3 separate regions of the Homo sapiens genome follow, and all the other regions are linked to region 2. Evidence: promoter capture Hi-C in 16 types of primary human blood cells and fetal thymus (Javierre and others, 2016). All regions are on one chromosome and are shown on one strand. The core of a region is centred on a gene start or on the middle of the fragment in contact, and the rest is flanking DNA. Distances in the headings are between cores, read along the strand shown.

Region 1 (3,756 bases), core at 1,257-3,756, 1.0 Mb after region 2:
ACATACCAGCTGTGTGACCCTGGGCACAATAATGGATCTAAGATTTGTGGGGCGCGAAGCCTGTATCATTTTAGGGGTTCTCCTTAAAGAAAATAATAAAACATTTACCTGTGAAAATTTTAGTGATTTCATGTGATCTTGTAAGTATATTGCTAGGACCTCTTCCAGGGCCTTGGAAGGGTCTGTGTTAAGTGAGGAGCCCTGTAGCTTCATTTCATCTGCTTGGAGGCAAATCTGCCTTTATTTGGGTAAGTGACTTATTTTCATCTGTAAAGTGGGGATAATAAAAGTGCTTGCCTCTGAGTAGTTAGAAAGATTAAACAAGATACTGTATTGTAAAGCATTTTGTAAACTTCCTGGCACATTGGCACATAATAAGTGCTTAATAAGGGTCACCTGTGATTACTAATTTTATTCAAAATCATGTCATTGTGGCTGGTGTCATTTGAGCTGCTTCCCAGAGACTGAGCGATTCCTGTACATACCTAAAGTTACACCTTCAAGATGCTGCAGCTTGGCTCACTCACTCATTTAATAAGCATTTAGGAGTTCCTGCTAGATGCTATGCACTGTGCTAGGCTCCAGTCTCAATTCATTCTCACACCACATTCACTGGAAGCACAACTCAGGTATCCCCTCCTCTGGGAAGCCCTTCTAGGACCCTAAGCCGACTCACTACTATCTGGGCACTTATCTCTCTGTGTGACTGGGTTTGGACATCACTAGTATTCAAGGAAAAGACATTATCCTGCCCCTCTGCCACCTTTGTTCATTTCAGTTCAGTATAATCGATACTTCTCTCTGTGCCTATAATACAGTATGGAGGTGCTCAATAATCTTAAATGAGTTGACTGAGCATGTGTTTGTTTTCACAGGAAGATTTCCGTTTCTTTTGCAAGCTATTTAATTTGCAAAAGTAAGCAAGATGTGCACAAAATAGTTTTGAGACATCTGGAAACAAAACAAGGTTGCCTCATCATTAATCTTGTTTTTGTGTGATAACTTTACTTTTTCTCATTTTATGACAACTGAAATTCTCTATTATACTGCCAGACCTCATTCTGCAAGCTTCTCTCCTGTGCTAATAAAAAATATTATGGCCACATCGAGAAGTCCTTAGGGAATGTGTTCTGCATCAGGAAAAGTAATTAAGCTCTGGGGTCCTAAAGGAGCCTGGGAAAGTCTATCCAGAAACTATGGGGTTAGGATGTATTATCTATTGAAAAACAGAACCGGACTTTGCAAGTTTTACAATATCTTGGCTTATTAAAGCCACTAACTGAGAATTAAAATTTCTGGATTGTTACTTTTACAACAGCAGTCAAGTGTCGGAAAATATCCTGACCAGTCAGTAAGGTATACAAATAGAGAAGGCAAGGAGTAGCTGTGAGTAAAGCGCCAACTACATTTGCTGAGTACCTGGGAATTTACGAGTTAGCTTTTGCTATCATTATCCGTCTCGCTAAAGCAACCCTATGAGGTAGGTGGGAAGCTGGATGCCGTCCTCTTTTGACAGCCAACACTGAAGAACAGCTGGGGCTGGAAACTAGATCTGTCAGACATAGTAACTGCTTCTATCACTCTCACCACCCTCCCATGCTCTTGAGAGTGCCTTCGCTTTTGTGGGTGTCTTCAGAAAAGCATGCGGATCTCTGTATAGGTTTTACTCAAGTGTTCCTCTCTGTGGAGGGTGACCTGGGCTACATGAACATGGGCACCTCAGGATCGGCAGCTTTCCATGAATTCCTATGGTAAGGGGTTCAGCTTATCCTTCATGTGGGTGAAGATGTATGATTTCATTGAACATTGGCAGTTACAGCCAAGTACAAGTCCTGCCTTCAGGATCCAGCAGGGAAGAATGACATTAAACATGTCACCTTGGAGAAATGTTGCATTCACCTTCCGGGTAATGACCCAGCCACCCAGGGACTCCTCTGAAATATCCAATCCTCTAAGTTTAAACACGTTTCAGAATTAATCCATCTGAATTCTTATCGCTGTAGATGCAAGGAGAAGGAGTTATGGCAGGTCTGAAACTATTAGCGGCCAAGCTCCCTAGCAGAAGCAACCTCTCCCTACACCCCATTATCCGTGCACAGCTCCTTATCAGCGGAGGAACAACTTTACTGTCACCATATTTTCTACTTGGAAAAAAAAAAGAAACCTCAGCAGGCCCAATCCGAAGGCTATGAAATTTCAAAGAAACAGAGCTAAGAGGCGAGAAACTAGCCCTTTGTGTTAAAAAGATGGAAATGCTCCAAGCGCCTTTCCAGTCTGCTTTCTGTTTACAGGCCTTGCGTGAGCGCGGGAGGCTGGGCCTCATCTCTGGCTCTCCCCAGCCAGGACCCCTTACTCAAAACCCTCCATCTCGGCAAGAACCCTCATTCCCAAGTTAGTTGGATTCCAAGTCCATAAACCGGGTCAAAAGAATACAGTAATTTCCTACTGGAGCTCTAAGTGGTGGTTTTCACGGAGGACTCGGCACCATCCTCCCACCTGCCTCCTCCCATCGAACATTCCTTTTTAAGAAAAACACACACCAGGCTCCGGGAAGCTGACGTAAACATCCTGAGGAAATAACCACTGTAAGTGGCTTCTAAACCCATTTCCCCAAGGAAATAATCAGCACCTCTTTCCCAAGACAGCTCCAGGTAAGCAAGCGGTGAAGGGAGCTGCACCACCGCGTTCTCAAAAGTAAAGGCGCTTGCGGAACTGTCTACTGATTTGTAAGCGCGCGCCCATCCACTGTCGCATTTAATCTTCCGAACGACCCACGAGGTGGTAAAGGCGGGGATTATTTTCTTCATTTTACGGGTGAGAAACCGAGGCCCACAGCGCTCGTTCCTGTAGCCGGGGTCAGGCAGGGCACACCTAGGGGAGCCTCTGCCTTCGAGCCCCGGGACCGCCCCGCGGCACCACGAGATCTCCCCAGTCAGCCCGTGTGCGGCTGCGGCCGCATGGCCTCATTGTTTTGGGAAGACGTCCCTCTGTGAGGATCTTGGGCGACTCTATGAACCGCGGGCCCAGCCGCTCTGCGGAACGATCCGCAGCGGGACGCAAAGGGCGCGGCGAGCCCGGCGGCTCCCGGAACAAAGGACAGCAGAGCGCGCGGGGCCCGAAGGGGCGTCCGCCCTAGTGGGCGGCGGAGGGGGATGCGCGCGGAGAGGACCAGCGCGCACCGCCCCGGCCCGCCCCTCAAATCCTCCTTCCTTCTCTCTCGCACTCGGAGACGGTCCCTGGGAGATCCGGGAGGGGGCGCAGCTCGCCGTCCTCGCCGGCAAGTGCCGTCGCAACCTCCCTCTGCCGCCACCCCCACCCCGAGAAGCGCACAAAGAGCGGCCGGGCAGGGAGCGCTCACCTCCCGTCGGGGCGGGGCCGCGGGCGGGGCCGGCGCGCGCTCCGCAGCGCCCGCCTTAAAGGGCCCGCCCGCTCCTCGCGCGCACTGCGCATGCTCGGCCGCGGGGCACGGAGGGGAGGGATGGGAACAGCGGGCGCGCACGCCCGCGCCGCCCGCTGGCGCTGTGGCCTGCGTCCCCGCGGTGGCGGCGCGGCGCTCGTGCGCGTGTCAGAACCCGCAGGGTCTCGGCCCGGGCGCCGGGCGTGTGCTGGACACTGGTGCCATGCATTCCAGAGGTCGCCAGCGGCCGGGCGGGCCGAGCTCGCGCGGCAGCCAGCTTTTAGCTTTCCCATCCTCAGTTTCAGGGCCAGTTGGGCGAAGTGCTGCCCAAGGAGACAGAAATGCAGGCGCGGGCGCGC
Region 2 (3,350 bases), core at 782-3,281:
GCCGGCCCCTCCCCTCCTGCCCCCACGCCCAGAGACTGCAACCACCCGTTGGGGTTCCTTTCCATGACATAAGGGCTTTGTTCTTTTGCTCTTCAGAAGAAGTCTTTGGGTCCCTGCCATCTTAAGAGCTATAAAACTCATCAGGAAGGTCCACAGCTCCATTCTTGAAGTCAGCAAGACCACGAACCCACCAGAAGGAACGAACTCTGGACACACTAAAAATACAAAAAAAAAAAAAAATCAGCAGGCTTGGTGGCAGGTGCCTGTAGTCCCAGCTACTCGGGAGGCTGAGACAGGAGAATGGCGTGAACGTGGGAGGCAGAGCTTGCAGTGAGCGGAGATCATGCCACTGCCCTCCAGCCTGGGCAACAGAGCAAGACTCCGTCTCAAAAAAAAATTTTTTTAGAGACAAGTGGAGAAACAAATATTAACTGTACATTAAATATTATACATAGGACCAGGCCTGGTGGCTCATGCCTGTAATCCCAGCACTTTGGGAGGCCGAGGCGGGTAGATCACGAGGTCAGGACTTGGAGAGGAGCCTGGCCAATATGGTGAAACCCCGTCTCTACTAAAAATACAAATAATTAGCTGGATGTGGTGACACGCACCTGTAACCCCAGCTACTCGGGAGGCTGAGGAGGAGAATCGCTTGAGCCCGGAAGGCAGACTTCATGCCATTGCACTCCAGCTTTGGCAACAGAGCGAGACTCCGTCTCAAAAAAAAAAAAATCATATATAGATGATTTGATGATATGGTTAATTTTGTTAGGTGTGATAATGGTATCATTAGTAGCATGATGTCCCTTTGTCTTTAGGAATTGCCGGCTGGCAATGGGGAAGGGGTTGTGCATCCACTATTTCAGCCCCTACTACTTTAAGTCTCTTCCCAAGCACGTTCCTCTCCCAAAGAAGTTACCATTCTAAATGCCTAACAGCTGGAAGTCCCCTCTGGTGGTTTCACAAGTGGAGTGATTTTACAGGAGAAACCCAGGTTTGGGGTTTACTATTTACTTGACGGCATTTGTAATCTGTAAGGCTCTTCCTGCAAAGAACAGGTGTTTCCAACTATACGTGCCTGGTCAAGGACTATTTCTTGGGTTTTCTACGTTCTGCTTTTGACAGCTGACTTAACTCAGGGCCTGCCTCACTGAAGGGAGAAAAAGGAAGGCCTCGGTCCCCCAATCATGATGACCGGGTTGTAAATACTGCCTGGGAAGGGATAATACAGCCTTTTCCATTGTGTGTGTGTTTTAGTTTTTAATTTTTTAAATTTCAAGCTTAGGCAGTGGTTCAGTGCAAGGACTGAAAAGCGCTACAAGAGAAGGTGGGCAAGCACGAGGGGTTTCAAATACAGGGGTGGAAGCAGTAGAAGGAAATGTCTCTTAGGCCCAGAGGACGGAACCAAAGGGTCAATTAGAAGGGAAAGGGACCTGCGGACCTGGGGAGAGGTCACTGGGGTTCTAAGCCTTCCACCTCTGCTTCCGGAATTTCCACGGGTTTCGCGGCCTTCTGGAGCGGCGACTTGGCCACGCTTGGGGTACAGGGTTGTGGGAAGTCATGTCATCCCCTCCCTCACGTGTTCCCTTGGCCATACTTTCCTGCCCCTCCACTTCCAGGCAAAACACTCCTCGGGACAGGCCTTGGGACATGTCCCAGATACACAATGGGGGCGCTGGACTTGGTGATAAGGGGCCTGCAGGAAGAAAAAGGCAGCCGTGAGAGCCGCCTGCAGATCCACGATGCATCTTAAAATTACAAATTCTCAGGCCCTACCCCAGACCTACTGAGTCAGAATACCCAGGGCACTGAGCCAGGGGGTGGGTGCCCGTAGGCCCGGCAGCACCCAGCCTGCAGAAGCTCCACCTCCGGGAGCGCTGAGCTAGGACCAGCTCCCCACGCCCCTGCCCTGGGGCTGCCGGGAGTCCAGTCCTGTTACACCTCCCGCGGCCGCGCACAGCGGCAACCCGGGCGTGCGGGGGCGCGCGCGGTCAGGGAGGGGCCTGCGGAGGCGCGAGGCCCCCGGAAGCGCCTTTCCCGGAAGGCAGGGAGGCAGCGCCGGCCTCCGGAGGCGGCCTGGGCGATGGCGGCGGAGTTTTGTCCATAACGTGGGCAACCGCGCAGCTGGAGGATGGCCTCACTCGGGCCTGCCGCAGCTGGGGAGCAGGCGTCGGGGGCTGAGGCGGAGCCGGGCCCCGCGGGGCCGCCGCCGCCGCCCTCACCGTCCTCTCTGGGGCCCCTGCTCCCCCTGCAGCGGGAACCTCTCTACAACTGGCAGGCGACCAAGGCGTCGCTGAAGGAGCGCTTCGCCTTCCTCTTCAACTCGGAGCTGCTGAGCGATGTGCGCTTCGTACTGGGCAAGGGTCGCGGCGCCGCCGCCGCTGGGGGCCCGCAGCGCATCCCCGCCCACCGCTTCGTGCTGGCGGCCGGCAGCGCCGTCTTTGACGCCATGTTCAACGGCGGCATGGCCACCACGTCGGCCGAGATCGAGCTGCCGGACGTGGAGCCCGCAGCCTTCCTGGCGCTGCTGAGGTGAGCGGCAGCGCGGGCCGGGCCGGGCCGGGCCGGGCCGGGCCGGGCCGGGCTGGGAGATCCCCGGGGCCCGGCCTACCCGGACTCCCGGATGACCTTGGGCTGGGCTCTTCTGACCCGCCCGGGGCCTCAGTTTCCTCCCGAGCCGTTGATGCTCCGGAGGGTCGAAATCGAAATCTGTGAACCAGGACGGCTCAGTCGCCAACTAAACGTTAGTGTCTTCATTAGGCAAGCGTGCGTTTTACCATTGAAAGGCGTTTCGCATTCCAATTATGGATTGTCGCTCAGACTTCAGAATTAGACAAGTGGCAAGGATAGAGGGGCAGATCAGGTTGTCCTGATTGCCCATTTGCGAAGTTTTATGTTTTTGTTTGGGGGAAGAGAGTAGTTGAAAAATCTTGCAGGACTGATGTTTTGGGGTTATTGTCACCCCCTTCCCCCCGCTTTTTTTGAGACAAGGTCTTGCTCTGTTGCCCAGGCTGGAATGCTGTAGCGCGATCATGGCTCACTGCAGCCTCGACCTCTCCGGGCTCAGGTGATGCTCCGACCTCAGCCTCCCGAGTATTTGGGACTACAGGCACGCGCCACCACGCCCGGCTAATTTTTTTTATTTTTATTTTTGGTAGAGAGAGGGTTTCACTATGTTGCCCAGGCTGGTCTCGGACTCCTGGGGTCAAGCGATCCGTCCACCTCGGCCTCCCAAAGTGCTGGGATTACAGGCGTGAACCACCGCGCCTGGCCACTTTTTTGTTTTTGTTTTTGTTTTTCATTAACGTATTAGTTGTCAAGACCCAGGAAAGTAAATACGAAAACAGACA
Region 3 (3,446 bases), core at 868-3,367, 1.8 Mb after region 2:
GGGAGACTTCAGAATTAGCCCCTGAAATAAATTTGATTTTACACAAATTTTTCTCTTACTAGTGTTTCCTGGAACCATGCTTGGTGGATGAGGGAGGGAGAAGAGAAAGAAGGAAAGAGGGAGAGAGCAGATTCAGCATAGTGGGGAGAAAGTACGTTTTTGTTTGGTTTTTTTGTTTGTTTTCTAAGAAAGGATTCTTCGAAAATCCTGTTGTGTTTTTTTAAGCAAGTTTTTTAAAGCACGGGGGAGAGTTTAGGCTGATTTTTTATAAGAGGGATGTTAGTTTTTTGTTGAAGAAAATATCCCAAAGTTCATATTGGTTGTGAGAGTTAAGTCCCCTTGAATTAGAGTAGATGGGAAAGACTTGGGGGTCATCCATAGCAGCTTGACAACAGTCTTGGGACCCTGTAGAGAAAAGACTGCAGGGAGGGAAAAGTGGGAGAGTGAGACAGTGGACACTGTGGCCACGGAAGAAAACATCCAGTGAGAAATCCCCAGGAATGGTCAAGGAAATTTTGAGAGTGACCTCAAGCAAATTGCTTCCTGTTTTCTATTGCGTGCTATGATCCTTTCTCTGTGACCCCCGCCTCTCCAGTGCCCAATAAAATTATGTCGTGCTGATTGCTTTTATGGAAATGTTTGTGGGAGAAGGATCTGCTGGCCACGTGGGACAGACCAGAGCAAACAGAGGAGGGCAGCTGCAGAACGGCCTTGTCTCCAGGAGACGGTGCTGTTGGGGGCAGGTACAGGAGGGAGCCCTGTATTCTGCTGAGGCACACAGGGCATGAAAGATGACCTGTGGGAAGTTCCTTGCCTGGGCTTCCCTGAGGACACCCCAGTTCCTTCTCCAGACGCCTTACTCGGGAATATTCCCTGACCCTATGTGGCTCTGCCAAGGGCATCACTGGGACAGACCTGCTGTGGCAACTGCACTCCTTTTCTGGGCCTCCAGGAGGAAGGCAAAATGACTGGCTTCTCAGCTGGCTGCTCCTGATTTGCCCTTCTGGACTCATAGGTCTCAGGCCCAAGGGAAAATGAAATATGGGCTTAAAAGAGGGGGTGGGAGAACAGATCCATCTGATAACTCCATCATGTGTTGCTAACCAGCCACATCCTGCCAGCGCTCTGCAAAACTGCACTTCCTTTTTAGTAACCTGGCTTCCTCCTCCCTCCTTCACTTTCACCCCTCCTACTCAACATCCCGTCTCCACCGCTACCCCTCCTGAAGCTTGCCAACCCTCACTGTAGATTGTTTTAGGGGATTTCCAGAGGCCCCCTCCCACCTGCCCACGGTGTGCTTAAGGGAAGGGCCAGGGCCCCTGCAGGGCCATTCCGTGATGGGGGAGACAGCTTCTGGGTAAGGATGGGAAACTCAGCATTGCATAGTGGGTAACTGTGACCCACTAGCAATGTGAACTTGAGCGAGTTTCTCAGTTCCCTCTTTGCACAACTGGGACTCTCACCATCAGGTGGTTGTAAGATTTAATTGACACAATGTACATGAAAGTACTCAGTGTGGTTAGCCTGCGCATAAAATGGTTCTAGACACAGCAGCTGTCTGTCAGTCAGTCTGCCTTTTATGCAAGGGGTGGAAAGGAGGGCTTTAAGGGGCCTGATGGGGAAAGATCATGGCAATGAATGCTAATATGCCTGAGATGCTGTCAGGTACTTGCCTTAAGTGGTTACCTTTAATCCTCACAATAGCCCTTGGAAGGAGCCACTCCTCCCGGGTTTAAGCAATTCCCTGCCTCAGCCTCCTGCGTAGCTGGGATTACAGGCACCTGCCACCATACCCGGCTAATTTTTGTATTGTTAGTAGAGACAGGGTTTCACCATCTTGGCCAGGCTGGTCTTGAACTCCTGAGCTCATGATCCACCCGGCTCAGCCTCCCAAAGTGCTGGGATTACAGGCATGAGCCACCGTGCCAGGCCCCTTTTTAGTTATTTAAGCCACTATTCTCCCTACAAGCAGGACACTCAAAGATCCACATGCAAAGACTGAGACCCTGCAGGGGCCCTGGTATTTTTCCTTCATGGTGAGTGAAAAATGACACAAGAAAGGAACCTTAAATTCCAGTGTGTTATGGGTGGGAACCCAGATGCCAGCAAGCAGGACTGGGACTTCAATTATCTGTCAACCTTCAAACCCATCTTTTCATGGTCAGTCCTCAGCTGAGTCCTAGGCAACAGTTTCTCTCTGGTGGAGCAGGAGAAACTTTCATTCTGGCCCTGCTAACACTAACTTGCTAATTTGCCCATGCTCAAGATTTGAGTCTGGTCCTGGAAACACTCAACCTGTGGACCCATCCTCTTACCTGGCCACAGGTGGGTGGGGTGTGCCCAGAAGAGCATGAGGAGTTCTCTCTCTCTTCCAGACTCTTCTGAGGGTCACTGTCACTTTTAAAGTATTTTCTGGGTGGAGGCTTGGGCTTGGAGGACATAGGCTTTCTCACCAAAATCTCAAAGGATTTCTTCAGTCTCAGCGGCGGGTGGCTGTCCCGGCTCTCTGGGAGGGGTGGGCTCTCCTGGGGCAGCCTGGAGGATGCTATAGAAAGCACCACTGGCTCCCGTGCCAGAGGCAAGCTGGGGCTGTGTGTGCTGATGTCCACGTCAGAGGACGGCTTCTCAGCACTGCCACTCCCAGGACTTCCCCCTGGGGACCCAGACATGTAGCTGCTGTCACTGCTGGAGCGGATCATGACCTTCTGAGCCCTGCGATGCGGGGGTGCTGAGTTCTTCTCTCGTTCCTTCTCCAAGGTGGGCCGCCCGTGCCAACTGCTTTCCAGCCTTTTGACACCTGTGTGGGAAGCACAAGAGAATCTTCACAGCTGAGCTTCAGAAAACAGAAATACCCCCTGGCCTCACCTGTGACTGCCACGGGCAGCACACTGCACATCGGCCATCTGCTTCTTATCTGAAGTCACTGTGGATCTGGAGTATGGCAGTCTTGGTGTTGGTCCCTGGCGAGCTGTATGACTTTGGGTTGGGAAAATCATTCAAGCTTTCTGAGCCTATGACTGATGTATATGGAGATATGCCACCCAGATCACCCATCGAGGAAGGGCTTGGTGTCCCAGCTGTGGGGAGTGCTGCTGGCAGACTACTTTCAGCTGTGGGTCCCTCCAGGGGCTGCCACAGCTGCAGACAGCTGCCTTGTCCAATGGGGCAGCCCATCTCCAGGGACTGCTGGAGATAGGGTTACAGAGGCCCAGCTATGTTGGCCAACATAGGACAACTCTAATGGGGACTTTGGCTGCAGAGCTCCAGGGCTTGGCTGAAGCTGTTGGGTGTGCACCTCAGCTCCGTCCTCCCTCTGTCTACCCTGCCTGCTCCCCTCCCTGCCACAGGTAGTGAACCCCAGGACACTGCCTGCAGACCAAACTCCATCTCAGAGTCAGCTTCCTGGGGGACCCAACTCCATTTCTGCATCTGTAAAATGAGGATGA

The links. Contacts are between HindIII fragments. The CHiCAGO score rates a contact against its expected background, and 5 or more counts as called.
Region 1: a contact is called between a fragment that was not itself captured here and the fragment with the promoter of BTBD1 in region 2, in 4 of 17 cell types (fetal thymus, naive CD8 T cells, naive CD4 T cells and 1 more). The highest score is 9.1, in fetal thymus.
Region 3: a contact is called between a fragment that was not itself captured here and the fragment with the promoter of BTBD1 in region 2, in 1 of 17 cell types (activated CD4 T cells). The highest score is 5.9, in activated CD4 T cells.

The regions. Positions count from the first base shown.
Region 1 is chr15:82,046,779-82,050,534 of GRCh38, reverse strand. No RefSeq gene overlaps it. Among named protein-coding and RNA genes, the nearest start is that of MEX3B, 2.6 kb to the right of the region's middle. RefSeq lists a silencer at 3,268-3,587 and an enhancer at 3,268-3,756. The HindIII fragment of the contact is 2,871 bases long and covers 1,071-3,756 here.
Region 2 is chr15:83,065,933-83,069,282 of GRCh38, reverse strand. BTBD1 (BTB domain containing 1) reads left to right here and starts at 2,031. Exons shown (of 8, transcript NM_025238.4): 1 at 2,031-2,532. The coding sequence starts at 2,132. It overlaps MIR4515 (microRNA 4515), which reads right to left and starts at 1,948; the gene lies at 1,868-1,948. RefSeq lists enhancers at 1-146, 1,584-1,633, 1,644-1,763 and silencers at 1,824-2,303, 2,544-2,713. The HindIII fragment of the contact is 13,987 bases long and covers 1,283-3,350 here.
Region 3 is chr15:81,291,907-81,295,352 of GRCh38, reverse strand. IL16 (interleukin 16) reads right to left here. Exons shown (of 19, transcript NM_172217.5): 12 at 2,316-2,797. Among named protein-coding and RNA genes, the nearest start is that of STARD5, 31 kb to the left of the region's middle. RefSeq lists enhancers at 1,022-1,081, 1,112-1,201, 1,381-1,899, 2,712-2,841. The HindIII fragment of the contact is 1,773 bases long and covers 1,231-3,003 here.